Linked DNA regions of Homo sapiens: all the other regions are linked to region 1. The links are contacts of gene promoters, found by promoter capture Hi-C in human tissues and cell types (Jung and others, 2019). All regions are on one chromosome and are shown on one strand. The core of a region is centred on a gene start or on the middle of the fragment in contact, and the rest is flanking DNA. Distances in the headings are between cores, read along the strand shown. Region 1 holds the start of F13A1 (coagulation factor XIII A chain). Region 2 has its middle 65 kb from the start of NRN1. Region 3 has its middle 76 kb from the start of MIR5683. Region 4 has its middle 51 kb from the start of MIR5683. Region 5 overlaps LY86-AS1 (LY86 antisense RNA 1). Region 6 overlaps F13A1 (coagulation factor XIII A chain).

Region 1 (3,575 bases), core at 692-3,191:
AGAAACAAGGAAGCCTCAAGAATGATGCCCATGTGTCTGGTGTACCACCTGCGTGCAAAGTGATGGTATTCATTGAGGTAGGGAACTCCTGAGATGCACCAGGTTTTCCAGGAAAGTGATACATCTCATGTTAGACATGATGAGCGTGTGTTGTCACTGGGATGTGACAAATGAGGATAGCCAGTAGGCACTTAGATACGGGAATCTGCAATTCTGGAAAAGATCTTGGCTAAAGACCCAGATTTGGGAGGTGTCAGGATATAGATGGAATTTGAAAACTATGGGAGTTCCTCAGACAATCAAGGAATATTGCGCTGCACTGGAGGAAACCACAGAGTGTTCAATGTCAAGGAGGCCTAGGAAAAATACCTTCAAAGACAGAGTTCAATGCTTCCAAAAGGTCAGGTAAATAAGAACTGAATCCTGTCTTTTGGCCTGAGCACAGGCCTTGGAGACCGTGACCTCCACTTTCAGTAGAATGATGAGGCGGAAGCCAGATGGCAGATACTTAGTGATGAAGGGGAGGAGAGGAGGAGTAACAGCAGGAGTGGGGACATAGGTTGGGGGAGGTTTTTAAAAAAATACTGAAGAGACCTGAAATTGCATGAATGCTGAGAAGACCCACTATTAGCAAGCAGGAGCTTGAAGCTGCAAGAGGAAGAGTACGTAAGAGTCACAGCAAAGCCCCGGAGAACAAGGCAACGCAGAAGCCTGGTTTGGAGATGCAGAGGGAGGAGGGACCTTTCCAACTTCAGTAACAAGAAGAAAGAGGAAAAGATAGATAAGGTTGCAGGCAGGTTCATAGATTGGTAGCAGAAAATTGAGAGAATTTCTAACCAATGGCATCTTTTTTTTTCTTCTTTATAACATTGGGAGATTGAGTGGCAGGGTCAGAAATTTGAAGACAGTAAAGAAGGTTAGAAATAGCCATGTTTGACTGGGTGCGGTGGCTCACGCCTGTAATCCCAACACTTTGGGAAGCCAAGGAGGGTGGATCACCTGAGGTCAGAAGTTCGAGACCAGCCTGGCCAACATGGTAAAGCCCCATCTCTACTAAAAATACAAAAATTAGGCGGGCATGGTGGCATGCACCTGTAGTTCCAGCTACTTGGGAGGCTGAGGCAGAAGAATCACTTGAACCCGGGAGGTGGAGGTTGCACTCCAGCCTTTGCAACAGAGCAAGACTTCATCTGAAAGATAGAAAGATGAAAGAAAGAAAGAAAGAAAGAGTAAAAGAAAAAAATTAAAATTTTAGGGGGAAAATTTTCTAATTTTTGAACATGCACTAAAATGATTTTCAGAGAAAACCAAGTGTTATTTTCTAATCTGCATGGCATTATTAAAGATGTTTACTCATCTTCCTTGGGGCTAGGCATCCCATTCCTGCAGGAAGTCTTGTGGTTAGGCGGTGGCTGTGGCTCTGGGATGATTCAGGAATGCAGACCATGCCTTATTTGCACAGGAGGGACACGTTGCTCTCACTGCATGCATGGTCACAACTGTCTGTGTGACCTGTCTGTGGGAGGGCAGACCCCCCTCCTGCCAAGCCACAGTAGCAGCTGACCTGCCAGGCAAAAGCATTCCTTTGTAAAGGAAACCCTCCCAGACCCTCTGACCAAAGGGGACGGGTGGGGACTTCCTGGCACTGCAGGGCCCCTTGCCTGGTACTCCCAGCAACTGGTTGCGGTGGGGAGGGCAGATCTAGGGATGGGGATGGGGAGGAGAAGTGGGAATGGGAAATTGGGAGTCAGAGGGGCAAGTGGGAGAGAAGGGCGCACCTGCCGGGATAACAGGCCAGATGAAGTAAATAGAAAATCCTCTGAGCTCCCCTACTGGCTCCAGCTGTGGAGAAGGGGGAGGAGAAAACCCTGTGGGACAGGGGAGGAGGGTGAGGGCTCCTCTTAGGAAGTTATTTAAGAGCCAACTGTCTTGTCTTTCCCGAGTCCGTTTGAGGAAGTCCCCGAGGCGCACAGAGCAAGCCCACGCGAGGGCACCTCTGGAGGGGAGCGCCTGCAGGTAAGCCACCGACCCTGCACCCTATGAGCCAGGGCCCGCTGCGTCCACCTTCTGCACCTCGGTTTCCTGGTTGAACCAGCAAGCGGCTTGCTCTGGGCCCTGTGGCGCCGGTCACAGGCAGCTCCACTTGCCCAATCCTGGCTTCCCGCCCCCAACTCCGCACCTGCCCAGCCCAGCTTCTAAGCGGGACTTCTCTCAGGCTCTCGAGGCAGCTCTCCCGAAGCCGTTGCTTGCTTAGAATGCCACCAAATGGGGATGGGGGAGTTGGAGGTGCTTCCCCAAGGGACGAGCCCCCTTTCCTCAGGGAGCAGATTATGGAGCTGGAACACAAAAGGTGGAGGGAGTGGGGCCAAGTGAGAACAGCCTGCTAGACTGGAACCCCGCCGGCTTGGCTCCCCACTCCTGCGCGCCTCCCCACTCCTGCGCATCGCCTGCCTCCGTCCCAATTTGGAGCTGAACTCGAGCCACTTCTCCTCCTTAGACCCGCCCAGAAGCGAGGGCTCCTGCCCGCCGCACTCACCCAGCCAGGCGTGCACCTGGGGCTCCCCCCTTCTCCCCCTTAGCACTGTGTCTCCCGACAGCGCGCCACACTGTTCTGCACCCCTGGCAATGCCGCAGCCTACCTTCGGTATTTCTCACTAGAGGATGGCTCTCGCAGCCTTCTCCCTATCATTAACCCTTTTTCGCTCTTCTCCCTCCCTTCCCCCGTCAGCTCACCAATGACTGTAAATATATTTATCTATACTTATGGATACCCATTCACACCTTATGCATCCAAACACTCCTGTCTCCTTCTCAGACCAGACACCTTAGGCGTGGTTGTCTTTTCTCCAGCATGTTGTTAGTGCTCCACATGTCTCTGGAACCATCTCTCTACTCTGGTGGCCTCTATAATGGGGACTCTTCACCTCTTGGGGGTGTGCCTGGTTTTTGAAAATAGCCAAGTCTCCAGGAGTCATGACTGGGTAATCCAGGGGATCAAGGGGGAACCTTCACTGGGCCCAGAAACAAAGTCCCCCTTCATTTGGTCATTTGGTCAACAAGTACTTACTGGGCACTGACCGTCAGGTGTGTGTTGTTTAAACTGGCTCAGTGCCTGCACAAGCTCCAAGGGAAGGGGAAGCAGGCTTGGGGAATGGGAAATGTTGGCAACCCTGACTTCTTAAGCCTATTGATAGCCCTATTGAAAATTGCATGCCCAACCTCTCCACCTCCTTATCCTCCTCCATGTGGCTCAATTTCCAAAGCAGTTCCTACCTCCTCACCCCTAAGTGGATTTACTTATGGCTCTTCTTGGGCTCCACCCTAACCCTATCAGACTATAATCTATCAGAGCAAACATTCTGTTTTGTTCTCTGATGTATCCCATGTACCTAGATCACAGCCTGGCATGTCATAGGCCCTCAATAAATATTGGTTGAATTAAATTGCAAATGTAAACGCTTTAGAAGACAACATTTGTCTGGACATGGTTGTGTGCGTTTATTCTTAAAAGTGACTTATAATCTCATAAATCTGTATGAAATGAACATAGATACAGCACATGCATATAACAGGAA
Region 2 (3,575 bases), core at 299-2,798, 250 kb after region 1:
ATTTAAATAAAAATGCTGTCATACCATTAAGAAACTCAAATCATGAACAAGTAAATGCACAGCACAGGTACAAAGAGAATAAAAATTATAATAGAACACAATGTACAATTCTGTTTAAAATATTAAGATCACAATAAAATAGACCATTTTATGCAAATGTAGACGCTGCCAAAATTGCTTGTGAAGAAGTTGCAGCTTGATGCAGTGGTCATGCTTGCTATCCCAGCACTTTGGAAGGCTGAGGCAGGCAGATCACGAGGTCAGGAGATTGAGACCATCCTGGCTAACATGGTGAAACCCTGTCTCTAGTAAAAATACAAAAAAGTATCCAGGAGTGGTGTCACATGCCTGTAGTCCCAGCTACACTGGAGGCTGGGGCAGAATTGTTTGAACCCAGGAGCAGAGGTTGAAGTGAGCTGAGACTCCAGCCTGAGTGACAGAGTGAGAATACATCTCAGAAGAAGAAGGAGGAGGAGGAGGAGGAGGAGGACGAGGAGGAGAAGAACTAGTTGTTGCAACTGGCATGGATTAGTAACTTTGGAAAAATAGGAGAAAGAGAAGTATCTACCCCAAAGCCTCCAGGTTTGAAATGTTTTACAAATAAGTTACTCAGACTTTTAGAAAATAAAATTCCCAACCTATATAAACAGTTTTGAAACTCAGAAAAGGAAGGAGGAAGTCGCTTCCAAGATGGCCAAATAGGAACACCTCCGGTCTACAGCTCCCAGCGAGATCAATGCAGAAGACGGGAGATTTCTGCATTTCCAACTGAGGTAACTCGTTCATCTCATTGGGACTGGTTGGACAATGGTTGCAGCCCACAGAGGGTGAGCTGAAGTAGGGTGGGGCATCTCCTCACCCAGGAAGTGCAAGGGGTCGGGGGATTTACTTTTCCTAGCCAAGGAAAGCCATGAATGACTGTACCTGGAGGAACAGTACACTTCTGCCAAAATACTGTGCTTTTCCTACAGTCTTCACAACCAGCAGACCAGGAGATTCCCTCCTGTGCCTGGCTCAGCAGGTCCCACACCAACAGAGCCTTGCTCACTGCTAGTGCAGCAGTCTGAGATCACCCTGGGATGCTGGAGCTTGGCAGGGAGAGGGGCGTCTGCCATTGCTGAGGTGGGAGTAGGCGGTTCTAAGCTCACAGTGTAAACAAAGTGGCAGGGAAGCTCGAACTGGGTGGAGCCCACCACAGCTCAGCAAGGCCTACTGCCTCTCTAGATTCCAACTCTGGGGGCAGGGCATATCTGAACAAATGGCAGCAGACAGCTTCTTCAGACTTAAATATCCCTGCCTGACAGCTCTGAAGAGAGCAGTGGTTCTCCCAGCACAGTGTTCAAGCTCTGAAAACAGACAGACTGCCTCCTCAAGTGGGTCCCTGACCCCCGTGTACCCTGATTGGGAGACACTTCCCAGTAGGGGCCAACAGACACCTCATACAGGCTGGTGCCCCTCTGGGATGAAGCTTACAGAGGAAGGATCAGGCAGCAATATTTGCTGTTCTGCTGCCTCCGCTAGTGATACCCAGACAAACAGTGTCTGGAGTGGACCTCCAGCAAACTCCAACAGATCTGTAGCTGAGGTGCCTGCCTGTTAGAAGGAGAACTAACAAACAGAAAGGAATATCATCAACATCAACAAACAGGATAGCCACACCAAAACCCCATCCATAGGCCACCAACATCAAAGGCCAAAGGTAGACAAAACCACAAAGTTGGGAAGAAACCAGAGCAGAAAGGCTGAAAATTCCAAAAACCAGAATGTTTCTTCTCCTCCAAAGGAATGCAACCCCTCGTCAGCAATTGAACAAAACTGGAGGGAGAATGAGTTTGATGAATTGACAGAAGTAGGCTTCAGAAGTTGGGTAATAACAAACTTCTCTGAGCTAAAGGAGCATGTTCTAACCCATCACAAGGAAGCTAAAAACCTTGAAAAAAGGTTAGATGAATGGATAACTAGAATAACCAGTGTAGAGATGAGCTTAAAACACTTGATAGAGCTGAAAACCACAGTTCGAAAACTTCATGAAGCATACACAAGCTTCAATAGCAGATTAGATCAAGCAGAAGAAAGGATATCAGTGATTGAAGATCAAATTAATAAAATAAAGTGAGAAGACAAGATTAGAGAAAAAAGGGTGAAAATAAATGAACAAAGCTTCCAAGAAATATGGGACTATGTGAAAAGACCAAATCTACATTTTGATTGGTGTACCTGAAAGTGACGGGGAGAATGGAACCAAGTTAGAAAAAACTCTTCAGGATATTATCCAGGAGAACTTCCCCAACCTAGCAAGACAGGCCAAAATTCAAATTCAGGAAATACAAAGAACACCACAAAGATACTCCTCAAGAAGAGCAACTCCAAGACACATAACTGTCAGATTCACCAAGGTTGAAATGAAGGAAAATATGTTAAGGGCAGACAGAAAAGTCCGGTTACCCACGAAAAGAAGCCCATCAGAGTAACAGCAGATCTCTCTGCAGAAACCCTACAAGTCAGAAGAGAGTGGGGGCCAATATTCCACATTATTAAAGAAAAGAATTTTCAGCCGAGAATTTCATATCCAGCCAAACTAAGCTTCATAAGTGAAGGAGAAATAAAATCCTTTACAGGCAAGCAAATGCTGAGAGATTTAGTCACCACCAGGCCTGCCTTACAAGAGCTCCTGAACAAAGCACTAAACATGGAAAGGAATAACTGGTACCAGCCATTGCAAAAACATACCAAATTGTGGAGACCATTGACACTATGAAGAAACTGCATCAATTAATGGGCAAAATAACTAGCTAGCATCACAAATGACAGGATCAAATTCACACATAACAATATTAACCTTAAATGTAAATGGGCTAAATGCCCTAATTAAATGACACAGGCAAATTGGATAAAGAGTCAAGACCCATCAGGGTGCTGTATACAGGAGACCCATCTCATGTGCAAAGACACACATAGTCTCAAAATAAAGGGATGGAGAAAGAACTACCAAGCAAATGGAAAGCAAAAAAAGGCAGGGGTTGCAATCCTGGTCTCTAATAAAACAGACTTTAAACCAACAAAGATCAAAAGAGACAAAGAAGGCCATTACATAATGGTAAAGGGATCAATTCAACAAGAAGAGCTAACTATCCTAAATATATATGCATCCAATACAGGAGCACCCAGATTTATACAGCAAGTTCTTAGAGACCTACAAAGAGACTTAGACTCCCACACAATAATAATGGGAAGCTTTAACACCCCACAGTCAATATTAGACAGATCAATGAGACAGAAAATTAACAAGGATATTCAGGACTTGAACTCAGCTCTGGACCAAGTGGACCTAATAGACATTTACAGAACTCTCCACCCCAAATCAACAGAATATACATTCTTCTCAGCATCACGTCACACTTATTCTAAAATTGACCACATTATTGGAAGTAAAACACTCCTCAGCAAGTGTAAAAGAATAGAAATCAAATCAAACTGTCTCTCAGACCACGGTGCAATCAAATTAGAACTGAATATTAAGAAACTTACTCAAAACCACAAAACTACAGGGAAACTGAACAACCTGCTCCTCAATG
Region 3 (3,575 bases), core at 497-2,996, 230 kb after region 1:
TATATATATATATACCTCCTATGAACCAGCAATTCTACTTCTAGGTATTTATCCAAGAGAAATGAAAAATAAATGTACATAAAAAGTATTGTACATGAATTTCAATAGCAGCTTTCTTCATAAGAGCAATAAAACTGGGTGGGTTGGGGAAAATATTCTCAAGATAAGAATAAATAAGCAAATTGTGGTTACATTCATACAAGGAATAACCCTCAGCAATAAAAAGGAGCAAACTATTAATACATGCATATGCGACAACATGAATGAATCACGAAATCATTTTGCTGAGCAAAAAAAAGTCAGACACAATACAATTCTATTTAAATGAAATTAAAGAATAGGCAAAACTAATCTATGTTGGTATAAATCAGAAAAATTGTTGCCTCCTTGTGAGTATGGGCAAAGGCAAGGATTGACTTTGAAGGGGAAAAAGGATTTTCTCGGATAAGGAAATACTCTATTTAAAAAGTTTATTTCAATAGTTCTTGGGGTAACATTCCATATCTTGATGGATGTGTGAGCTACACAGACAGAAGTTTCTCCAGTATGAGGTAGTTTACTCACAGGCAAGCAGGAGTCAATTCTTGGATGAATAATCAATAATAGGACAAGGTTGCATGGCTGGTTTGACCATTTTGTGAACTAACATGCCAAAAACAAACAAATAGGCCCCCTAATTTGTATTGCACATATTCTATACAAGGTAGAAGGTGAGAATGAAAATAACAAATGAACAAGATGTTCCATAAGGATAGACAAAGTCTGGTACTAATCCAGTATTTCCCCCTTATCCAAATGTGATGGACTGAAAGAATCCAGGATCAAAATCAAGCTTCATCTCCTAACAGACCCTGATCATGTACCAGATGGGAATATTTAAAATATACCCAGAAAAGCAACCTCTCAATGACAGCGAATTTTAGCACAGGAAGGCTGATGCTGACGTTCCTATACTTTCATTTTCTGTGATTCGATGAGCTACTTTGACATTACTCCTGGTTAATGACAGTTATCAAGATGCTTTGATTCTCTTTCTCACTCTGGATCATTTTACTTTCCATCAGTGACTTGCAATTCTATCAGTGACAAATCAATTTTCTTCACAAACTATCAAGGTCAACTTTCACAAACACTGTAGTCACAGCCACAAAACATCTGTTAAGACAGATCACAGTTGAGGGAGCAATTAATTTATTCCCATCTCATGGCTTGACTGGCCCCCAGTGGGGTGATGTGATGCATCTGCTCATTCAACACATTGCATCATTACCTCCTCTGTGCCGGAGCACAAGCCACAGGGCAGTGATCAAAGCAGACAAAATATCTGCCCTCATGGTGCATAGATTCTGGTTGAGGGAGACAGGTAATAAACAATTTAGTTAAATAACAGTGTGGTAGGTATTGTAATTTTAGATGAACTAGGCAAGGAAGGCCTCAGAAAAGAGTTGACAACTGAGAAAATACCTGAAGAAAAAGAGGATGTGAGCCACGTACATCTCTTGGGTAAACGTTTCCCAAACTGAGGAATAACAAGAGCAACGTTTGGAGGCAGAAAAGTATCTGTCACATTCAAAGAACAGCAAGGAAACCAGGTGGCTGGAGCAGAGGTGAATAAGTGCGAAGTTCTGGAAGCTGAGGTCAAAAAGGTAAGTGCAGATTTTATCACATAGGGCTTTAGAGCCATTCCAGGTGCCTTGCTTTTACTCTGAAGTGGGAAACTACCAGAGGCTTTTGGGTATAGGAGTCGTGTGACCTGACTTTGATTTTAACAGAATCACTCCAGCTGCTCTGTTGACTATGACCAAAGGAGGACAAGGGCAGACATAGGAAGGCCAGTGAAGGTTGCATTAAATGCAATGAAGTTTGACTAGATATTTATCTGCCCCAGCCTCTGGTCCTTAAGTTTATACATCTAAGCTAAGATACTGTTAGCGGAAAAGAAGGAGCAAAGCAACGTGCAACAAATCTATGTCATTTTTTGGCAACAAGTCATAAAAATTTTTGAGGGGTAAAGAGAGAAAATATTAAGAAGTGTTCTCCTTCACCTTTCTTTCTCTCTCTTTCTAGCCAAGCTTTCCATGCTCACCTAAACTGGTGGCATTTTTGTCTTTGATGTGACTGATTTTGAGGTGAAGGAATGAATCTATGACTTGGTGGTACTCCTGCTGGCCTTCTATCGATCCGTGAATTAAAAAGGAAAGAAAAATTTCCTAAGAAGGACCAAAGGGAGTTAGGAAAGGTGGTTTATAAAGTGGGAGAGATAATCCTAGACGGATGTACAAGGGCGAAAGAAAATCCTATGACTTGATCTTGTTAGGAAGCTGACCTAGAAAGACTGGGCTTTGTAAGAAGCCTTGATCAAGAGTTACAAGAAAGGGAACATATAAAAATGCTGGAAAGGTTTTCAACCTCAACATTATCACTGGGAGGGATCCCTCATAGTTGGATCTTGAATTTTGGGGAATTAAAGCACAGAGGGTACCATCCTAATTCCACCCCTGTGAACTTACTGAACAGCTTGTGAACTTACTGAACAGCATAAGCAGTTCATTTTTCAAACAGAGAGCTTTACTCACACAGGAGAATTTCCTGCAACTAGAAAATAGTTCCGATAACTGTCTCTCTTTTATTAGCTATGGAGGACATGTCCATCACTGCTGGTGCATGAGGTAGGGCATGGGCACTGACAGCAGTTCAAAAATCTATCGTAAGTGGATTATAGGGGTTGGCCAGAAATATAAAGTAGCATTAAGTGTGTTAGATACTGGCATGAGGCTGTGAAGAAGATGCAGAAAACACTCTCCTCTACATTCATTGTTTCACTCAGCATAATCAGGGTTGAGGGAGAACACTCAAACTGAAAGTAGTGAGGTTTCTCTTTTCCTGGATTCCATTCAATGTAGGGGTCATTTTCAGTGGTCCCAAGAGCTAAATTGGGCAAAGTGGATTTCTACCATCTGAGCTCCTCACTCACACTGGGACAGTCATTTTGCACTATGAACATTACACACTGTTGGTAATTGTTTGGGGCATTTTCCAGGTGTAGAACAAAAGCCCTTTGGCTCACAAAATGGCTCCAAATGTTGCCATCGACTCTCCAAATATTTCCAGTACTTCAAATCCAAAATCATTACTATTGATTTTGAAAGGCATTGATTACAATTTCTTCAGAACTCTATGTTTGTTTCTTTGGAAAAAGCATTGTTTCATGGCAAAAGAAGAAAAACTGATACATATTTTAGGTGCTTTCACTTGATGAGTCACCTTCTCTCCATTTTTCAAAGTATTCATTGGTCTGTTTGAGGGCAAGAAATGACCTAAATACCCTAATGCAGCAAGGACCGGCAGTTTCTATCCAGCCATGGCCCCTCGAAAAGTGACTATTCACCCCCCTTTAGTGGGGGTGAGTTCCTATGATTTTTTCTTGCCTTGGTATCTATTTTGAATATAGGTTTAAGTTTCTTATACCAGAAGACTTTAGTTACCATTGAAAGAGTTTCCAGTTCTCCACCTCCTCCAGTTCCTCAGGATGGTCAATCCAAATATCTGCCCTAAACAACCACCTCCTGGTGACC
Region 4 (3,575 bases), core at 417-2,916, 200 kb after region 1:
TCTCTTCCCACAGTTGAGCATTCCGGCAGCATGGGTGATAGCTGACATTGACTATCACAGCTGGCAACTGAATGCACTATGAGGGAATCTAAGGACAAGTCTGCTGCCCCAGTCCCCTTCCTCCAATATTTGATGACCCGATCCGGGATCCTGGGAATCACCCAGTCCAGTCCACCAATGGATGTCCATCAATGGATGATTGGATAAAGAAAATGTGGCATATATACAGAATGAAATACTATTTGACAATAAAAACAAACAAAATTATGACATTTTCAGCAATATGGATGGAACTGATGGTATTTACCTTATATAAAATAAGCTAAGCCTAAAAAGACAAATATTGCATGTTCTCATTTATATGTGGGAGCTAAAAATACTTGATCACATGGAGATAGAGAGTGAAAAGATAGATAACAGAAACTGGTAAAGGTGAGGGGAGCTGGAAGGAGGCTAAAAAGAAGTGGGTTAAAGGGTACAAACATATAGTTAAACAGCAGGAATACATTCAATGTTTGATAGCTGAGTAAGGTGACAATAGTTAACAAAAATGTATTGTACTTAGATAATAAACACCCTAAATACCCTGACTTGATCACTACACATTATATACATGTAACAAAATTTCACATGTATGCTATAAATTTGCACAAACAAAAAAAAGGGGGGAGGGAAAGAAACACTTTACAAAATAGCTGTTTTGTAACCTTCAAAATTGTCAAGGTCATGAAAGCCAAGGAGAGACTGGGTAATTGTTTGAGGTTGAAGGACTCTGAAGACATGATTATTTTGCCATAAAGAGCATTGTTGGGACCATTGTTGAAATGCGAACAGGGCCTTAGGATTCGATGTTAATGACATTAATAAATAAATTAATATGGAGGATTAGTTTTCTGATGTTGATGATTCTGTTATAGGTATGTAGATGAATGCCACTGTTCAGTGAAAATATACTCTAAAGTTTTCAGAAAGTGATGGGGTATCGTGTCAGCAACTTACATTGAAATGGTTAAGCATGAAAGGTTTTTGTATGCATACTTTCAACTTTTCTTTAAGTTTGAAATGATGTCAAAATAAAAAGGCAAATGTCAAAGCTCGTTAATGTTATTGCAAGGGAAAGTACACCCTGTAATAGTCAATATCAGAAAATTTTTTTTTAAAGGCCGGGTGCAGTGGTTCATACATGTAATCCCAGCACTTTGGGAGGCTGAGGTGGGCAGATCACAAGGTCAAGAGATCGAGACCATCCTGGCCAACATGGTGAAACCCCATCTCTACTAAAAATACAAAAAATTAGCTGGGCATGGTGGCATATGCCTGGGTCCCAGCTAATCGGTGGCTGAGGCAGGAGAATCACTTAAAACCCAGGAGGCGGAGGTTGCAGTGAGCCAAGATGGCACCACTGCACTCCAGCCTGGCCACAGAAAGAGACTCCATCTCAAGACAAAACAAAACAAACAAAACAGGATAGTAAAAAAGATGGATGATGGAAATGACAACAGAAAAAAATAAAGAAGATTATGAGAACCTGTACACTCCCAGCCAGGAAGCAACAATTTTAAAAATTAAGATAAATAAAAATCAGGAAAAAATATGAAAGTTTCATTAATAATTTACACAATTTTATAGTCAACAGAACATGCACAAAAGTCAGGAGTAGCTTCGTTTGATGAATTTGTTGATTTCTATTTGTACTGTGATCTTTCCTTATGAAATATATAAGAAATAATTTTCTTCAACTTTCTTTAGTAAAAGACAGTTTGGTTTTTAAAATTATGACCCCAAACATGTTTACAAAGAATCAATTATCACAGTCAATGAATTATTAAAAGTTCTCTCTCAGATACATATTTTAATGATAAAAGTTAAATTTTCAAACTATTATGAAATCTTGATTAGCCTACTACAAAACCCCAAGACACATAATCATCAGATTCTCCAAGGTCAAATGAAGGTAAAAATGTTAAGGGCAGCCAGACAGAAAGGTCAGATCACCTACAAAGGGAAGCCCACCACACTAACAGCAGACCTCTCAGCAGAAACCCTATAAACCAGAAGACAGTGGGAGCCAACATTCAACATTCTTAAAGAAAATAATTTGCAACCCAGAATTTCATATTCAGCCACATTAAGCTTCATAAGTGAAGGAGATATAAAATCCTTCCCAGACAAGCAAATGCTAAGGGATTTTATCACCACCAGGCCTGCTTAGCAAGAGCTCCTGAAGAAAGCATGAAATATGGAAAGGAAAAACCAGTACCAGCCACTGCAAAAACACACCAAACTATAAAGACCAATGGCACTATGAAGAAACAGCTTCAACTAGTGTGCAAAATAACCAGCTAGCATCATGATGACAGGGTCATATTCACACATAAAAATATTAACCTTAAATGTAAATGGGCTAAATGCCTTAAATTAAAAGACACATATTGGCAAACTGAATAGAGTCAAGACCTATCAGTGTGCTGTGTTCAGGAGACCCATCTCACATGCAAAGACACACATAGACTCAAAATAAATGGATGGAGAAATATTTACCAAGCAAATGGAAGACAAAAAAAGAGCAGGGGTTGCAATCCTAGCATCTGATAAAACAGACTTTAAACCAACAAAAATAAAAAAAAGACAAAGAAGGGCATTAAATAATGGTAAAAGGATCAATGCAACAAGAAGAGTTAGCTATCCTATATATATATGCACTCAATACAGGAGCATGCAGATGCCTAAGACAAGTTCTTAGGGACCTATACAGAGACTTAGACTTCCACACAATAATAGTGGGAGACTTTAACACCCCATTGTCAATATTAGACAGATCAACAAGACAGAAAATTAACAAAGATATTTACAACTTGAACTCGGCTATGGATCAAACGGACATAATAGACATCTACAGAACTTTTCGTCCCAATTCAACAGAATATACATTTTTCTCAGGGCCACATGGCACTTATTCTAAAATCAGACACATAACTGGAAGTAAAACACTCCTCAGCAAATGCAAAAGAACTAAAATCATAACAAACAGTCTCTCAGACCACAGTGCAATCAAATTAGAACTCAGGATTAAGAAACTCACTCAAAACCACACAACTACATGGAAATTGAACAACCTGCTTATGAATGACTCCTAGGTAAATAAAAAAATTGAGGCAGAAATCAAGAAGTTCTTTGAAACCAATGAGAACAAAGAGACAACATAGCAGAATTTCTGGGACACAGGTAAAGCAGTGTTAAGAGGGAAATTTATAGTACTAAATGCCCACAAGAAAAAGCAGGAAAGATCTCAAACTGACACCCTAACATCATAATTTAAAAAACTAGAGAAGCAAGAGCAAACAAATTTAAAAGCTAGCAGAAGACAAGAAATAACTAAGATCAGAGCAGAACTGAAAGAAACAGACACACACACACACACACAAACCCTTCAAAAAATTAATGAATCCAGGAGCTGATTTTGTGAAAAAATTAGCAAAATAGACTGCTAGCCAGACTAATAAAGAAGGAAAAAGAGAAGAATCAAATAGACACAATAAAAAATGATAACGGGGGTATCACCACTGATCCCACAG
Region 5 (3,575 bases), core at 376-2,875, 210 kb before region 1:
CAGTATTCTCTCACACCAGCAGTGCAAGAAGTTTTTGTATGCCAACATCATCACTAACATTTGGTATTTACCAATGTTCACATTTTTGTCAACCAAATGGTCATAAAGTTGTTTTAATTTACATATCAACAATTATTGTTGGATAAAGTTGAGGATTTCTTCATGTATTTATTAATTATTTGAGTTCTTCCTTCTGTGAATTACCTATTATACATTGGACATTTTAAAATTGAGCTTTCTATATGTTTTTGTTAATTTGTAGGAATTCCTTGTATAACTTTGATATTAACCTCCAATTTATTTTAGATATTGCATTCTCTTCTCCTATTCTATCACCTATATGTTAACCCTGTTTGTGATATTCTACATTGAACGGAAATCTTCAGTTTTGTTGTAGTCAATTTTTTTTTCACCTTGTGTTTTTAGAGTGTTATTTGAAAACTCTTTCCGTACATCCTAATGTCACAATATTAAAAAAAAATTTTATACTTATTTCATAGTTTCAATTTTCATATCTGGGTTTTTAATCAATTTAGAATTGAATTTTTATATGCCATGAGGTAGATATTTGTCTTTATGTTGTGAAGTTTTCCTAACATCAGCTACTAAAAAGTTTCATCCTTTCCTCACTCATTTATAATGCCATCTCTGCTACAGAACAAATTCACACATTTACTTGGGTTTGTTTCTGGGCTTCCTGTTCTGTTCCATTGATCTCTGTCTTAGGCAATGCCAAGACCATATTTTTTTTCTTTTTAATTACTTAATCTTTGTTGTTTCTTAGTGTCTGGATAAGCAAGTTTCCTTGCTTTGTTCTTCCAGATAGCTTTCTAAATGAATTTGTCAAGTTCATACAAGATTCTGCCAGAATTTTGATTGGAATTGCATTTAATTTATAGATCGATTTGAGGACAACTATTTTGTTGAAAGTGCATAAAGAGTGATAAGTTTTTGAAGTTAACAAATTGGAATAAACTTCTTTGGGATGATTTAGATACTCTTTCTTAACTGTTTACAATAAGCCTGGGGTCTCTTAACATATTCAATTGGTATTATTACAATAGGAGAAAATATATGTCAGGAAATGTGTGTATGTGGGAATTTGGTGAGTTGTAGGTAGCAATCATTCTTTTACCATAACACCCACCCTTTTTTCCTTAAGGTTCTTGATTATAAGCACTAGTGCTTGTTCTATTCAGTGATTCATTTAGTTAGTCAAGGGCTAATACCACTTCTAGCTTTGTATTTAACATTCCATGGAGCTATCTATATCTCTTCAAATTTGCCCAGTGTTTCATTTGTTCTGGATAGGTTACCTAATTATCACCCAATGTTAATGAGACCAAGCTCATTAGAATGGTCTGTTTTAGAGTCTTTTACTTTCCTTCTCACCCTGGCTAGCTGTCCTGCAAAGGTATGCTTTTGAGGACAAGGAAAGCCCAGAGAGAGTGTACTTGAAAAAATTCAAACCCTTCACTACTCCTGGAAAATACCCTAGTCATGCACTTGCTAATAGACTAATTTTCATATATAAAGGACAGGACCCGATCATTATTTGTAGCTCATTTAGGGTAGTTAATGAGGAGTAGCCTAATTAAGAGGCTGGAAAAAGTATAGCACAAAGGTGGTCTTGAATTGGCTTTACTCATCTTTGTCCGGAACGTCTGCTCATCTTTTTTTAACCTACGAAAAGGGAGTATGAAGGGATGACCCATTTGAATATTTAGCAACATGTTAAATCCAGTTCAGATTCCATATTGTAGGTTTAAAAAAACCCACTGTTTAAAGAGTGCATTTCTAACATATAATTCACTGAGAGGATAAACATGCCTTTCAATGTTCTATTTAAGATAAAAACTGTATTAAATGAGCCCAGAATTGTTAAACTTAGCTCTGTAAATGTTCAGCAATTTTATATTTTTCCTTTGCTTTGTCTGCATATCTCCTTTTTCTTTCAAACCTTGGTTGGGTTCTTTTTAAAGTCACTGTCTTTTAAATCATGTAATTTTGAGTAACAAGACAGCTAGGTGACATATTGCAATATTGAAATTGTTGAGTCAGGTCTTCTTCATAATTTCACAACTGTTAAAATTCCCACATTGGAAAATATGACTAATTCCCTCTAATTCTCAAAAGTCTTCTCCAGAGAAAAATCACATTTTGTGCTACTCAAATGCCATAGAAACAGCTCCCTCATGGCTCCTCAGCTCAGTGTGGGGCTAACCTCACGGTAGGTTGGTGCTTGTAAGCAATTGTTTGGATGCATTGAAAGCTCTCCTCGTAAGTGTGCCTGAGAGACGAACAGGGCAAAAACCACTGTACAGACCCGAGGTGGACATTTTTAGAAAGAAATGCTTTGTGTACAGTTCAAACTGGTGGGTTCATGCTTTTTAAAGTGCTTTTTAAATTCCCCCTAGAAGTTGTCCAAGTTCCTCCTGCATTCTCCAAATTGCTGAGAGACGGTAGAGACCTCAGAGATTTTTGGATACGTGTGTGGTCACTACATTTCTTTTGGCAAAATAACTGGAGCCATAGGCCCAGCTGAAATTGCTGTTCTACTTGCTTGTAGGTATTTACAGACGCTGGTATTTCTGAGAGCTGAAGACATGTCTTCCTCAATTGTCTAATGCGATCCTCACAACCACCCAATGAAGCAGGCGTTAGTACCTTCCCTGTTTTACAGATGATGGGTGCTGGACCGTTAACCTTATTTTGTATATGGGAAAACTGAATCTCTCAGATTTCATTCTTTGCTCCTTATAGCAGATAATGTCTGTGCATTGCCCAATCATTGCTACTTTCCTTTGTGCCATTCTTGTGTGCCTGTTGGCTTGAGGGGGCTTTCTTCTTCCACAATCTCAGGGTGCTCGAGCCTCCCTGGCATGCACAACCTGAGAGCTGGAAGTGCCAGGGGAATTTACATCTGCTTGGGGTGAGCTTATCCAATGGCTGTTGGCTACAGGGGTCTGAAAGCCTCAGCTCCCTTGCATGGCAGAACAGGCCTTACACTCCTGAGCTCCCTGCAGCCTAACTCTCTGCAAGACTTTGCCTGAGTGAGTTCACCTTCTTGCTTGGCCTCTTCCCTTCCCAGCCCTGCTCCCCGCTCTTACTGGCTTCCTCTAAGAGCATGTTCAAAAAGTCATTTGCACAGGAATCCTCCTCACAGGATCTGCTTCTGGAGAGCCCAACCTAAGATGCTCCTCTTTCCTATGGTTTTATGGGACAGGATGTTCTTGGAGCGTGTTCTTGTGAGATTTAGGTTAATACATTCAAACTTGCAGAAGGTGTGAGTCTTGGAAATTTTAAAAAAGAAAGAAAACTAAATCTAAACCTTTACATGCCTTTTTTCCCCCCATCGTGCATCTCACCTGGGGATACTTGAAGATTTTGTTTAACTTTCCATTTACTCATTCCAGGAGATAGTCATGTACTACATGGTTTTCAATTGCATTGTTGAAGGAAGAAAAGCTGGATATTTTTATTTTTAAGGCATCCTCTTTCTTCGATTCCGTCAACTTGTTCTCACTACTGACTCTACCCCCAAACCATTCTCTATCCTTCCAGTTTATCTGATA
Region 6 (3,575 bases), core at 527-3,026, 140 kb after region 1:
CCCAAAGGACACACAAGAATTGGCAGATGAAGCTGGGGAAAGAGGTCCCCAAGAAAAGGCAGTAAGGCAAGGACTGTGGTGAGAACTCTCGTATTTGGAAGAAGTCCTGACCAGACAGAGTAGTGAAGAAAAGTTGCACCTACAGGCAGCTAGGGGCAGCAGGAAGCGAGCTGTCCACATGACAGATGTCTCTTGGAAACCATGGAGCCGAGCACAGCTGCCATTAGCTGTCAGCATGGAGGTGACAGTGAAGGCCAACTCAGGAATGGGACAGAATCAGATGCCACGAGAGGAAAGACTAAAACCCAGTCCACGAAACAGGAGTCAGGGGCTTGGCTGGGGGTGGATAACAAATTAAAACAAAATGTGTCCGCACTGCATGAGGAAGACATCTGAGGTCCAGGCCTCTAGAGTTTAGCAAGGAGGCAAGGCTGAGGGAGAGGGACAGTGTGGAGGTCTGGTCCAACTAGAAGAATCCCTAAATCCACATAGATGGTTGTAAGCGACGACTCATCCTGCTTCGGGGCTGGAGTTTGACCCCAAGTGGATAGTTTCTTAATCAAGGGTGGCATACACATTTCAAACTGGAACTTTGGAAGTGACCAAGTAGAATGTTGTTTTGAGAAGAACACCAAGACTGCATCTGAATGTGGCGGGTAGAAGGATTGATGGCCGCCATTGGCCACTGGCATGCAGTGAGGACTCGTCATATCCGTGGCTCAGTACTTACCACCCTGATTCTCACCGTTGAATCTCTTATAATTTCTCTGATCCACAAATGCTGAGTGTAGATACCAAAATATGGAAATGAGTAGAATCACAGGAAACAAATTATTACTAGATTTAGGACTTAACTATTTTAATGAATTAAATCATGGAAAGATCAGGTTCACTTCAACTTACTAAAGCTTATTATTAACTTTATAACTTTTTTCAAGATATATAATTAAGAAACGATAAGACTTTGAAAATCAGAATTTCTGAAGACTTCTCCTGTGGCAATATATCTTCTTTGATAACAGTGTCTTGATTCCATTCCCTCTTTGCTCCTTCAGTTACTTCCAGGGTCACTGTTATTTCCACCTCTCCCTCTCTATTTTCTCCTTCCAATCAGCATTTAAGCAGGCTCAAATATCTGCTGTGTTAAAAACAAAAATTACAAAAATCTTTTTCACCACTGTCTCTTCCTCCTCGCCTCCTTGCCGTCCTGGAGCGCTGCCTGGACTTGCGTCCTGCTGTGTTCCTTCTCCACTCCTTCCGCGCACACTCTGTCCTGATTTCTGCTACCAGCACTTCCTTGAAGTTGTTCTCAAGGTTGCCAAGACCACCCAATTGTCACAGGGAAGAAACATTTTGCAGACTTCAGCTTACTTGACCTTCCTATACTTCCTGGTGCTGTTGTTCACTCCCTTTGCTTGCAATTCTGTCTTTTCTTTGTTTCTACAATGTTACTTTCTCCTGGTTCCACCCCCTCCTGCCTGACCCTCTTTTCCTACCTCTTTTTGACTATAAGCTTTTCCCCTTTCTTCACCCTTTTCAAATTCCATTTCATTCTAGGCATCTATCCTTGGGCTCCATTCCCACCCACCTGATGTTCTTCCCACATAGCTGGTGTTAATGTTCACATATGTACCATCACCCCATGTCTGTGTCTCCACCGGGACTTTACCTAAATGTCCTACAGAAACCTGACACGGAACTTCCCAAATGACACCTCTCACTCTCTCCCTCACCTCAGGTCCGTTTCTCCCACTCCCCCTACTCTGGTGAAGAGAACCACCATCCACTCAAATTTAGCTACTTAAGAATGAGTTAAGCAACAAATCCTCTAAATGTCCCCTCTGAAATTGTTCTCGAATGCATCCCCTCCCCTCCAGCTCTGTAGCCTAAAAATTAAATATTATCTGGTGTGTACAACTCTTAATATAGTGCCTGACACATAATAAGTGTCCAATAAAAGTTTCCCCTATTACTAGTAATTCTGTTATTCCTGCCATACTACTGCTATTAGTTTGGGCTATGATTAGTTTTCTCCTGGAAAAATACTTGCTCTAGCTTCCCAATTCCACCTCACCTCCTCAGGCCCTCCTTCCCTCAGTCTAGCCCCTGCCTTGCTGCCAAAGTAATATCTGAAATATAAACCTGAGCCTCTCCCAGCACTGCTTAAAAGCCCCACCCCCCCCCCCCTCTCCCTGTGGCCTCCAGGGCATCCAGTCCTAACTCACAAAGCCTCTTGCTAAGTGGCTTTTCGGCACCTGGTCACTGCACCTCCTGAGCATGCCCCCACAGGTATTGTATGCAGAGGCCAGGGACCTGCCAGCAGTTCCTCCAACAAGCCAAGCCCCCCACCTGCATCCCTGGTCTTGCCCTCGCTCCAAAAACTCCGAGAGGCCTCCCATGCCCCTTCCTTTCCCCATGCACTGCAGGCCAACCTCCGTCCCAGCATCTGTGGTGAGCACCTGTGTGCTGCCATTGCTCTTCACGTGTTCCTTCTGCACCAGTGAGGGAAAGACTGTTTCTCCTCTGTGCCTAGTGCCTAGCACGGTGTTTGGAACATTATGGGGTTTCCAACAGCATGAGATGATTTGAATGAATGGTTACTGGGGAGGCACTTTCACAGCTAGGCTTAGTTGAACATAAAATGTCCTAAACTGGACTATTATGAAGAGGAAAGTTTTGTCTCTGGCTGAAAGCAAAATGCTTCTCCAAACCTCAATCCTTCAGATCCTCTGTGCCAGGCTGGGTTTCAGGGCCTGGGGATGCAGAGGTGGACAACATGTCTCTGTTCTCATGGAGCTTGCATTCCAGCAAGGAAGATAATGTCACACAGTAACTAGTACTGTGACAAGGAAGAGGAAATAAAACCAGGTATGTGTTAGGGAGAGCCGAGAACACTAGGGTTTGAGGACACATTACACAAGGTAAGAGGGGGAGGACAGGGGAGGTGACAGTGGAGCTAAAGCCAGAAGAATGAGAGGCTTCGTCCAACATAAAAGGGCTCTCTTATTACATCCTAGTTAATGGAAAGATATTTTTGACTTTGCACCCAGAGGCTGCAGAAGAATCTCAGAAAATATAATCTGGCTTTGGATATGTCTCTCACTGCACTAAAATGTTGCCTGTGGCCCTGAATTATGTAAGATGCCAGAGCACGCAGCATAACTGTAGAGAAACAGGAATTACTCTGCCAGGCTCTGGGAAAGCCGTGCAGTTGTTTTCTCCTCTCTGGGCCTGCGCTTCCTGGAACAGCCCCAGCCTGCTTCTGTTTGGCGGTCTCCGCTCACAGAGGACAGTGCTTCCCCAGAAGGAAGCTCCAGGTTCCTGCACCCATGGCAGGCTGTGAAGTTGCTTGTGGCTGGCTTCAAGGCTTCTTCTCCCATTCACCTCACCTTGGCCAGCTCAGCTCCTCTCTGATGTGTTCCTGATGCTCGAATTTCCCTCCTGCATTTTGCCTCAATGCATCTCTGGCCCGCATCCAAAGTGATCATCATTAATGTTCTCTTCTCATGGATCTATTGGCCAGATGATTTCTGCTAAAAGATTTCACTGCACTTCCCTTGTCCTCACTCCTCCTT

What was found. The method cuts DNA at HindIII sites, captures the fragments that hold promoters and counts their contacts. A contact is called where the count stands out against the background at its distance.
Region 2: a contact is called between a fragment that was not itself captured here and the fragment with the promoter of F13A1 in region 1, in 2 of the 25 tissues and cell types used here (H1 embryonic stem cells and spleen).
Region 3: a fragment that was not itself captured here is called in contact with the fragment with the promoter of F13A1 in region 1 in 5 of the 25 tissues and cell types used here (bladder, dorsolateral prefrontal cortex, liver and 2 more).
Region 4: a fragment that was not itself captured here is called in contact with the fragment with the promoter of F13A1 in region 1 in 2 of the 25 tissues and cell types used here (H1 embryonic stem cells and hippocampus).
Region 5: a contact is called between a fragment that was not itself captured here and the fragment with the promoter of F13A1 in region 1, in 1 of the 25 tissues and cell types used here (mesendoderm cells).
Region 6: a fragment that was not itself captured here is called in contact with the fragment with the promoter of F13A1 in region 1 in 4 of the 25 tissues and cell types used here (H1 embryonic stem cells, dorsolateral prefrontal cortex, mesendoderm cells and 1 more).

Annotation. Positions count from the first base shown.
Region 1 is chr6:6,319,028-6,322,602 of GRCh38, reverse strand. It overlaps F13A1 (coagulation factor XIII A chain), which reads left to right and starts at 1,941. Exons shown (of 15, transcript NM_000129.4): 1 at 1,941-2,016. All of the region lies in intron 1 of LOC124901253 (a long non-coding RNA gene), which reads right to left. The HindIII fragment of the contact is 8,313 bases long and covers 1-3,575 here.
Region 2 is chr6:6,069,986-6,073,560 of GRCh38, reverse strand. No RefSeq gene overlaps it. Among named protein-coding and RNA genes, the nearest start is that of NRN1, 65 kb to the right of the region's middle. The HindIII fragment of the contact is 4,133 bases long and covers 1-3,575 here.
Region 3 is chr6:6,091,132-6,094,706 of GRCh38, reverse strand. No RefSeq gene overlaps it. Among named protein-coding and RNA genes, the nearest start is that of MIR5683, 76 kb to the left of the region's middle. The HindIII fragment of the contact is 3,167 bases long and covers 163-3,329 here.
Region 4 is chr6:6,117,032-6,120,606 of GRCh38, reverse strand. No RefSeq gene overlaps it. Among named protein-coding and RNA genes, the nearest start is that of MIR5683, 51 kb to the left of the region's middle. The HindIII fragment of the contact is 3,395 bases long and covers 1-3,363 here.
Region 5 is chr6:6,524,640-6,528,214 of GRCh38, reverse strand. The region is part of intron 3 of LY86-AS1 (LY86 antisense RNA 1); the gene reads left to right. Among named protein-coding and RNA genes, the nearest start is that of LY86, 62 kb to the left of the region's middle. The HindIII fragment of the contact is 6,608 bases long and covers 1-3,575 here.
Region 6 is chr6:6,176,657-6,180,231 of GRCh38, reverse strand. All of the region lies in intron 11 of F13A1 (coagulation factor XIII A chain), which reads left to right. Among named protein-coding and RNA genes, the nearest start is that of MIR7853, 9.0 kb to the right of the region's middle. RefSeq lists an enhancer at 1,851-2,350. The HindIII fragment of the contact is 3,214 bases long and covers 170-3,383 here.